Regions from separate parts of the Homo sapiens genome. Here region 1 is linked to region 2. The links are contacts of gene promoters, found by promoter capture Hi-C in human tissues and cell types (Jung and others, 2019). All regions are on one chromosome and are shown on one strand. Each heading gives the region's core, a stretch centred on a gene start or on the middle of the fragment in contact. The rest is flanking DNA. Distances are from core to core; before and after follow the strand shown.

What was found. Contacts are between HindIII fragments. The study calls those that stand out against the background at their distance.
Region 1: a contact is called between a fragment that was not itself captured here and the fragment with the promoter of TMEM74 in region 2, in 3 of the 25 tissues and cell types used here (H1 embryonic stem cells, hippocampus and pancreas).

What each region holds. Positions count from the first base shown.
Region 1 is chr8:108,712,670-108,717,465 of GRCh38, reverse strand. It overlaps a transcript of TMEM74 not described here. Among named protein-coding and RNA genes, the nearest start is that of TMEM74, 73 kb to the left of the region's middle. The HindIII fragment of the contact is 7,955 bases long and covers 1-4,796 here.
Region 2 is chr8:108,784,949-108,789,665 of GRCh38, reverse strand. TMEM74 (transmembrane protein 74) reads left to right here and starts at 2,072. Exons shown (of 2, transcript NM_153015.3): 1 at 2,072-2,190; 2 at 4,529-4,717. The coding sequence starts at 4,568. RefSeq lists silencers at 1,957-2,136, 2,552-2,846. The HindIII fragment of the contact is 13,104 bases long and covers 1-4,717 here.

The DNA.
Region 1 (4,796 bases), core at 1,362-3,861, 73 kb after region 2:
TTTTGTCCTTTTGGTCTCTGCTGTATCCCCAGTACCAAGAAAGGAAACTTCCATATGGTAGATGTTCAATTACTGTTTTCTGAATAAATATATTAAGATTTGAATTGATAGTAGTTGATCATTTCATAGGTTTTAAAATTCATCTATTGAAATGATTACATATATTTTATTGGGCCTATTGAGGGAATATAATATTTTAATTCCTTTTCTTGTGTTAAATTTTTAATTTGATTTTTTTGAGTAACTCCTTTATTATTTTATGCTTGTTAAAATTTAGCATGCTTGTAATTATTTAGGATACTTATTTGCATTAAATATAAGTAACGTTGATATGTAATTTTCTTTTTTGTGCTCATTTTGTCAGATTTTGTCAAGATCATGCAAATTTTATATGAATGATTGATAAGAGATTTAATATTTCCCATGTTCTGGAGCTATACTTTCCCCATGATTTTTGGCTTATAGTTCATAATGAGGCAAATTTTATAATTTCATTTATTTAGAAAAACATTCATTTTCATTGAGTTTTAAAATTTATCAAGGTAGAAATATGTATAATATGCTCTGAAATATTTCAGTGTTCCCTCTCTCTGTTTATATATATTCTGATTATTAATTTTATAAACTTTTATGTTCCATTTTTTATTGAATATATTTTACATGTATTTTTTGTTTTTTTTTAATTCTTAAAGAGACTCCCCTTTGATGTTTTAAACCAATGTTACTGTTTTGCTGTTTACTTACTAAATAATTTCTCATTTTATTTTTAATAGTTCTCTTTGATGATTTTCTCCTGCATGCTTTTTACCTAATTTTTCTAAACTTCTTGAGTTAAATACTCATTTAATAGATGAATATGCTGTTTTGTTTAATAATGAAATAACATAAAGTTGTAAATTTTCCTCTCACTGTAACATTGGGTGCATTGAATAACTTTGATGTACAGTCCTCTAATTTTAAAATTTCTAATCTATAATTTTAACATTAATTTTCTCTGTGACTCAGAGTCAGAACAGAGAACAGACACTTTAATATCTCATTTGCCCCTTTAGCACCATTTCTAAACAGGTTACCTCTTTTGTAGGTGATGAAAGAGTTTTTGAATTCGTTAATTATTTAATAGTTTTAATGTACTGAAATTTTAAAATCAATTTCTAATATTTCATTTTATTAGGAATATATCCTATGTAACTTTTTACATCATGGAACATATTGCATATTTTGATTTACTGTGTAGTGATGTTTGAAGGCAAAGCATGTTCTCTGTTCATGGAGTAAAAGTTTGAAATGTATTTGGAAGTTTGCTCTTAGTAATTACTATATTTAAGCATTCTACATTGCAGTTTTTTGTCAAAAGCTACAGAGCTGTATAAAATTTACCTTGTAGAATGTGTTTCTGTCTATATTACCTGCTTTTTTATTTTCTTTTTTTAATCAATTTTTATACTATGTCATTTGCCATATAAACATGTTTAGTGATTTATTATCTTTCTTATGAATTACAATTTCTTCAAAGTAAACTTGTATTCTATGGCTTAATGAATATCTTTCACTTCAAATTCTATATTGTCTGCTATTAAAATTGTCACCAGGGTTACTTGTCTCATAAATATTTGCAAACCTGTTTATTTTTAAGCTATCTATATAATTTAATTTTTGTTTTATGTCTTCTTAGCAGCATTTGGTTAGACTTTTTTAATTTAAAAAAGTTTAGCCCCATTTATTATATATATCTTTGCCTGTATATGTTTTTTGTATTTTTATTATACTTTATGCTTTCTCACTTATTTCCAGTGATATAGAAAGTGTGCATTCGCTTTTTAATGTACTAGTGATTTTCTTTACATATAAAAGTCATTCAAACTACATTCCTCTCATTATTACATGACATAAACACAACTTGTCAGACAACTTGTCTGACTATAAAATGATTGTATTATAGGCCTTTCTTCTCCAGTTTTTTTTAAATGATGATTCACTGTTTCCCAAAATTTCCCATTGCAGAACTGTTTAAAGGCAACTCATTTTTTTTTCTTTTTCCGCTTCTATTTTAGGCTCAGGAGCCACAAGTGCAAGTTTGTTACCTGAGTATATCGTGTAATGCTGAAGTTTGGGGTATGAATGATCCCCTGGCCCTGGCAGTGAGTCATCGTACCTAGCAGTGTTTTAGCCCTCGCCTCCCTCCTCCCACTAGTAGCCTCCAGCATCTAGTGTTGCCATCTTTGTGTCCATAAGTACCTGATATTTAGCTTAAATAAAGATATTTGTTATATGATATAAATCACTAAACATGTTTATATGCCAAATGGCATAACATAAAAATTGATATTTAAAAAAGAAAATTAAAAAGCAGGTAATATAGATAGAAACACATTCTACAAAGGAAATTTTATACAGCTCTGTAGCTTTTGACAAAAAAGAAAAGATACAATATAGAATGCTTAAATATCGGAGTTGTGTTTATGTTGTGTTTATGTCATGTAATAATGAGAAAAATGTAATTTGAATGATTTTTCAATATGTAAAGGAAATCACTAGTAAATTAAAAATAGAATGGAAACATGGATGGCCTCCAGCTCCATCCACGTTGCTGCAAAGGACATGATTTTGATCTTTGTTAAGGCTGCATGGTATTCCATGGTATATATATTCCACATTTTCTTTATCCAGTTTATTATTGATGGGCACCTGGGTTGAGTCCATGTGTTTGCTATTGTGAATAGTGTTGCAATGAACATGCAAGTTCATGTGTCTTTTTGGTAGAATGATTTGTTTCCTTTGGATATTCATAGAGTAATGGGATTATTGGTTCAACTGGTAGTTCTGAGTTCTTTAAGAAATCTTCAAACTGCTTTCCACAGTAACTGCACTAATGTACATTTCCACCAACAGTGTATAAGCGTTCCCTTTTCTTTGCTGCCTCGCCAACATCTGAGACAACTCATTTTCTATCTTTGTCAGTCACCTGTTCCTCCCTTGTCACTTGAAGAATTTTTTCTTTATTCTTAGATTTTAACTTTTGTGCCAGAGGGTATCTATATCTCCTTTCTTGGTAATTTTGCCGAGAATTTCATCTAACTATCCTAGTATTTTGAACTCCATACAATTGTATTCCACTGTGACAGATTAATTCTTCTATTTCAGTTATTCTATTATTGTCTTCTATTTCAGTTATTCAGTTATTGTCCTCCTCTAGAATATCTATACATTTTTACCTTGTTATTTCTCTTTTAGACCAGATTAGTCTTATGTCAATTTTAGTATCAACTTGACTGGATTAAGGAATACCTAGAAGCCTGGTAAAGAATTATTTTGGGGTGTCTGTGAGGGTGTTTCTAGAGAAGATTAGCATGTGAGTCTGAGGGGACCAGGTAGGAAAGAACTGCCCTCAGTGTGGGAAGGTGTCGTTAATCTGCTGGGGGTCTGGAGGGAACAAAAACAGAGAAAAGGTGAATGTGTTGATCTGTCTGCTGCAGCTGGGATACACTCTTTTTCTCCTGTCCCTATGCAACAACTCCAGGCTCCCTGGCCTTTAAATTCCAAGACTTACACCAGTGGCCCCCTGGGTTCTCAGGCCTTTGGCCTTGGACTGTTACCCCATCAGCTTCCCTGGCTCTGAGGCCTTCTGACTTGGACTGAGTTTGATGTTTTCAGCATTGCAGGGTCTCCAGCTTGCAGATGGCTTGTCCTGCAACTTCTCAGCCTCCATAATTGTGTGAGCCAATCCTAACAAATCTCCTCTCATATATCATGTATATCCTATTGACTCTGTCTCTTTGGAGAACCCTGACTAATACAAATTTTAACATGGTATATGTATGCCCTTAATAGCACCCATAGATTTTCCCCATAGCTGCTATCACAGTTTTAATGTGTATTTTGTGAATATTTATTAAGTGCCTATCTCCTTTACAGTGTGTGAGTGCAATTATATAGCTGAATCCATGTATCATGTGTTCACCACTGTATTCCAACAGCCCAGCACATCATAGGTGATAAAAAATATGTATTGAATGAATGCATCTTTCTGGTCTTGCACATAGCCATTTTATTTTTTTACCCAATTAATTCATCTCTTTTCTTTGTCAAGTTTTGCCACTGTAAGTTTAAGGCCATTAGAATTTTTTCTTAACCAGTCTCCTTTTCTATCTCATTATTTTATAATTGTATATAATTCAATTTTTCTATCATCTCAGTCTATTCTTGTCTCAGTTTTCAGCCCATTTCCTATGGCCTTATCTTCTTATATGCTATTTCAGTTGCTAAATTTTTAGCCAAATTGCCAAAATCTGTTAAGGATCCATAAAAGACAGTGGTTCCCAAATAGATGTTCAAATCTAGAGTCACCAGGGAAACTAAAACCAATGAACCAACCAACAAAAGTTCATGTATTTGTGGACTCCAATAACATCGTCAATAACTCTGGAATAGATCCTAGGGGGACATATTTTTTTCTGTGTGCAGAATCCCAGGTCTCATTACAGGAAAGTAAATATAAAACTACAATTCCTAGCATGCACTGTTACCAGAGCTCTTCATGTCTCTACACCTGACCAGAGAGAACACTACCTCCAGGAAGCAATGTCCCACAAGCTTCACCCCTCACTCCATCCCCAGTTTCTTTTCTGTTACATTCTAAGGGCTACAGATTCTTCTGGGATTTTGGCAATAGATTCCTGGTTTTAGTTGACAGGCTTGTTATGAGTTTTCATCTTGTATTAAATACAACACACACACACACACGCACACACATATATAGCATGGTAGTATGGGAGGCTAAATGAATCAAGGTGTAC
Region 2 (4,717 bases), core at 823-3,322:
ATGGGTGCAATAATACTGCCTCCCTTGTGAAGTTGGTGTAAAAATTAAAGATGATAACATAATAGCACTAACAAAAAAGTATTATTGTTATTTGTTCTGCTTTTACCCTTTTAAATATACTATAGAATTCTTCTTCTATTTTTAGAAACTTCAGAATATTTGAAGCTAGTTTATTGTTTCCTCTCAGTATTCTCCTATGGCTAAATAGCCTAAGTTCCTAAGTTTTTCCTCGTCAACATAAATTCAAGTTCCTTCTACATCTTAGTTTCTCTCTTTATTTCTTTTTGCATATGTAGTACTAAGAACTGGATGCATCCCTGTAGATTTGGCTTGACAAACTAGTCCTTGAAGTGTGGATGGAATAGGGCAGTGGAGGAAAGATATTCATGCTGGAGAACCGTGTAGTAAGCAAAGGAGAAGTCATAATACATCTGTCATGTTTATCAACAAATGGGCCTCACTGGCTACAAATATAATCATATGGGGGAAAAAGAATTTTAAAGAGGGAGCATTGTGAACTCCTGTAATCATGTGACTATAGATTCTATCCAATGTAATGAAATACCAACATAATTGTCATTAAAGGAGATAGATCTCTCTTTTGAAAGCAAGCAACCACAGTATTTATGTGAGCTACAAGCACAATGTCATAATACATACTATAATCCCTAATCCCTTTTTTCTTTTTTTCTTTTTTTTTTTTTTGAGACGGAGTCTTGCTTTGTCGCCAGGCTGGAGTGGTGCAGTGGCACGATCTCTGCTCACTGCAACCTCCGCCTCCGGCTTCAAGCGATTCCCCTGCCTCAGCCTCCTGAGTAGCTGGGAGTACAGGCACGCGCCACCACGCCCGGCTAATTTTTTCTATTTTAGTAGAGACGGGGTTTCACCATGTTGGCCAGGATGGTCTCGATTTTCTGACCTCGTGATCTGCCCGCCTCGGCCTCCCAAATTGCTGGCATTACTGGCGTGAGCCATCGTGCCCAGCCCATCCATACTATAATCCTTTTTTGCTCCCCTAGAATTGTCCCAACAGGATGCTGGAAAACTGGAGATTATCTGCAAGCTACACATACCCTGGGCTTTCAGTGGCTGTTGGCTATTGCAGTCCACTCTGGTTGAAAGAGGCTGGTGACACAGTTACCTTGTCCTATCCTAAGAGTCACAACTCAGAAGATTCAACCTTCAGATTTCCTTTATTCCTGAGCCCTTTTATTCTGGCCTTCTGGTCTTTCTTCCATTCATTCCATATAGCATAACGCTTAGAATCTGTTGGTGTTCATCCCCCCCCCCCCACCTCTGCTAAGTATTAGTTGTGTGACATTGGGCAAATTATTCTACTTTGTAACTCAGTTTTGCCTTCTGTTAAAATGAGGATTTTTTTTTACAGTACTTTAACAATAAATTGTGACCATTAAATGAGATAATGTATCTATAGTGCTTAGAAGAGAGCCTGGCAATAATAAGCGCTATTTATGTTAACTGTTATTTTGAGTCATTATTATTCATACATTCAACGAATACCACTGTGCTAAATACAGGGGATGTGTTGGTACATCGGACAATCTCTTACCCCTTATGGTCATATTTCTTCTGATTTTGTGAGACACGCAATGACTTTCGAATCTGACTCCTGGATGCAATTTCAGAAGCTGCTGTTGGTAACTGTGGATGAGGCACTTACCCTCTCTGAGCCTGTTTCCACATCTGTAAAATGAGGATTAATAAAATCTACTTGGAAGATTTGTTTTGACTATTAAAAAGACAAAATATGCAAATTATCTGGCACATTTGAAGTCGAATATACTTTCCTTTTCACAGTCTTGTGGCCACACCTGAGGCTAGGGAACTCCACTCTAGGCTTAGAAAACAGTGCTGTCTTCTTAAGTGCTGGGGAGGAGTAAGAGGGTATGGCGGGAACTCATCTGCAGGAAGGGTAAAACCCAGAAGGCGTGGGAGGAGACAGAGACAGGAGGGATGCAGGGACCGCCCCTGGCCTACAACTCCCGGGATGCTCCGGGAGCGCCCCGCCCCGCCCCACCCCGCCCGCCGTGGCGGGCGCTGCCCACCCGGCGGAGCCGAGCGGCGTGCAGAGGCTACAAGTGCCGTAGCTGGTGATTGGGGGACTTTCTCCGGGAACCGTGCCGGGAGAGCGCGCGGTGCTGGAGCCGCACCGGGTGGCCGAAGCAGAAGGTGAGTGGCGGGGAGTGGGATGGGGTGGAGGCTTTGAATGCAAGGGTGAGAGCCCTGGAGCCTAGCAGAGCTGGAGCGCATATCCCCGCTCTCTCTCCTTCGTCTCCGAGTACTAGGCGGACACATCCGTACCTCGAATGCCTCAGTGGGCGCAGAGTTCACCAGAAATGGATAGCCGGATTCCTCGGCGCCTGCTGGGGGCACCGCTGCCAGGTGCTTGGGGCTCGCTCTCCCGGCTTTGCTCGCACAGGGCGCATCCAGAGGTCGCCTCCCCGAGATCAGCCTTGCCTGTGTCAGTTTAAAGCAAATATTAATGCTTTTAATTGATGACAGATGGACGAGGGAAAGTGCGTGTCCCCTCGCTTTAAGGTGCAATGTCGTTAACTGGGCTTTTAAGCAGATCAGAGGAAAAAGAGGGAGAGGACGGAAGAAAAGAGTCTTTAGCTGGTCCCCTGGGATTATCCATTCTCCACTGAGAATGGAAACCCCGGATTAGGGAGCTGCAAAGGAAATCGACTGTGCTGCTAGCATACCTCCGGTAGAACAAGCGAACAAGCGGGAGTAGCTTTTCTTTAAAGAGAGGTAGAGGCGGCCGTAGGGAATTAAGTGGGGATTTCTCTCTTCTTTTGTTATAAACTGAAAGTCTCAAAGAACCCTGCTGATTTTATCCAAGGTAGGCTAGTGTGATGAGTTAATGGTACCAAAGGTTAATCAGAGCCCCTAATGCCTGAGAAAACTGGAAGAAGAGTTATCGGTAATTGATGAAGCCTGTTACCATCACTTCATTCATTGAGGGATCCTTTAGTGGGGGTTTGTTCTAGTTTAGTAGTGATTCTTTTGCCCTGTTGTTTTTTGCTGTTTTCACTGTAGAGAAACTCCGATAACAGGAGAAAAACGTTTTCTGTTTTGCTTTTTTTGTTTTGTTTTAAACAAACTCTTAGGTGTAGCAGAAAACATGTCAATTCCCTCTCCCATATTTTGAGTTGCCAGGTTGACCTTAGGTGACCCTTGCCTGTGTTTCTGTTACCAGCTTTGGAGCTGTGGATTTTGAATTATAAGAAGCCTCAAGCCGTTGGGTTAAATCAATTATCACCCTGGATTTGGAAGCAAAATAAAAGGAGCCTTTGGTTAAAATCTCTAATGATAGTGGAAAGTGAATTTTTATTCCTTAGAAACATGGCAGAGGCAGAGAAAAGCCGATGGTTTTCTGCTCAAACCAAAGTTCTCTCCCAGAAATGCCCCTTGCTGCAGTCGGGGGTGAGGAGTGACATGTTTATAAAATTACAGAGGTAACCTTGGAAATAGCTTCTCACCTATTTGTCTCCACAGAACTCTTACTCTGTGGGTTTATAGTTTGTCTTTTATTATCAGTTCACTTCTAGATTGGGTTTGTAAAACTATCCAGATGGTCAATTTCTTGTGCATTGTGTGATAGCAAAGCATGCAGAGAGGGAGGAACACAGACCCAGGGAACGGGAGTAGCAGATCCTGCAGCTGGAGCAGGCAGGTGTGTGTGTGGAGGAGTGGGTTGGCCCATTGTATTTTGCAGGGATTGCCGTAAGGTCTGTTGCCTGTATGCTTTGGGGTCCAGAACATGCTTCCCCCATGGAGCAGTGAGGGAATAGGGCTAAGTGGAAGCACAGTGAATAAGCAGCATATGGTCTTGTAAATACAGGGCTGTGTCACTAGGGTCATTGGATGTATGAGGTGTAAGCTTAGCAGAGGTGGCTGATTAAGCTGGCCTTTTTCATCTACTTCAGAGCTATGGAATCAAAATGCTGAGTTCCTGCCCAGCTGATAGGGGTGTATAGTCATTCACTGATGGTGATGCTCCAAAGCTAATCTGTATTAGAATTTGCTCTGAACTAGGGAGAGTGTAAACACTTACAATCTTACTGAATTAACAAGTCTATGCTTCCCCAAGTCCTCCAGAAAATCGGCAGCTCTGCTAAAAAGGGCTCTTGCCTTTCTCATTTGTCTTTTTACAGGAAACTTGCCTTCTCGTTTGAGGGATCCTTTTGCAGGAATGCGCGAGTCCTTGAATAAATTTGGCTTGGTGACGGCAGTATTCTTTCTCAGTAGACACTGCCACTTCCTCCACGCACCTTTCTACCCTGACTTAAGTTTCTCAGTGTTAATCACTATGACAAGTGAGAGCATTTGTCCCTTCCACACTTTCCTGCCACTAGGTATCCCCTCCCTTCTTTTGCCTGTTTGAGGTGGAAAAGGGGCTAAACAGGTGCAGCTGTGAAGGAAATGGGGACCCCAGGAGCAACACTCCTGGAAGTACAACCTTAGCTTCTGTTGGGTTCTTATCTAACTCTGTTGCTATTGGCAGACTTTCCGGAAGCTGCTGGGGGATGTCTGACTAGCTCTCATGGAGCTCCACTACCTTGCTAAGAAGAGCAACCAGGCAGACCTCTGTGATGCCAGGGACTGGAGTTCAAGAGGGCTGCCTGGTGACCAGGCAGATACAGCAGCCACAAGAGCTGCTCTCTGCTGTCAGAAACAGTGTGCATCCACCCCA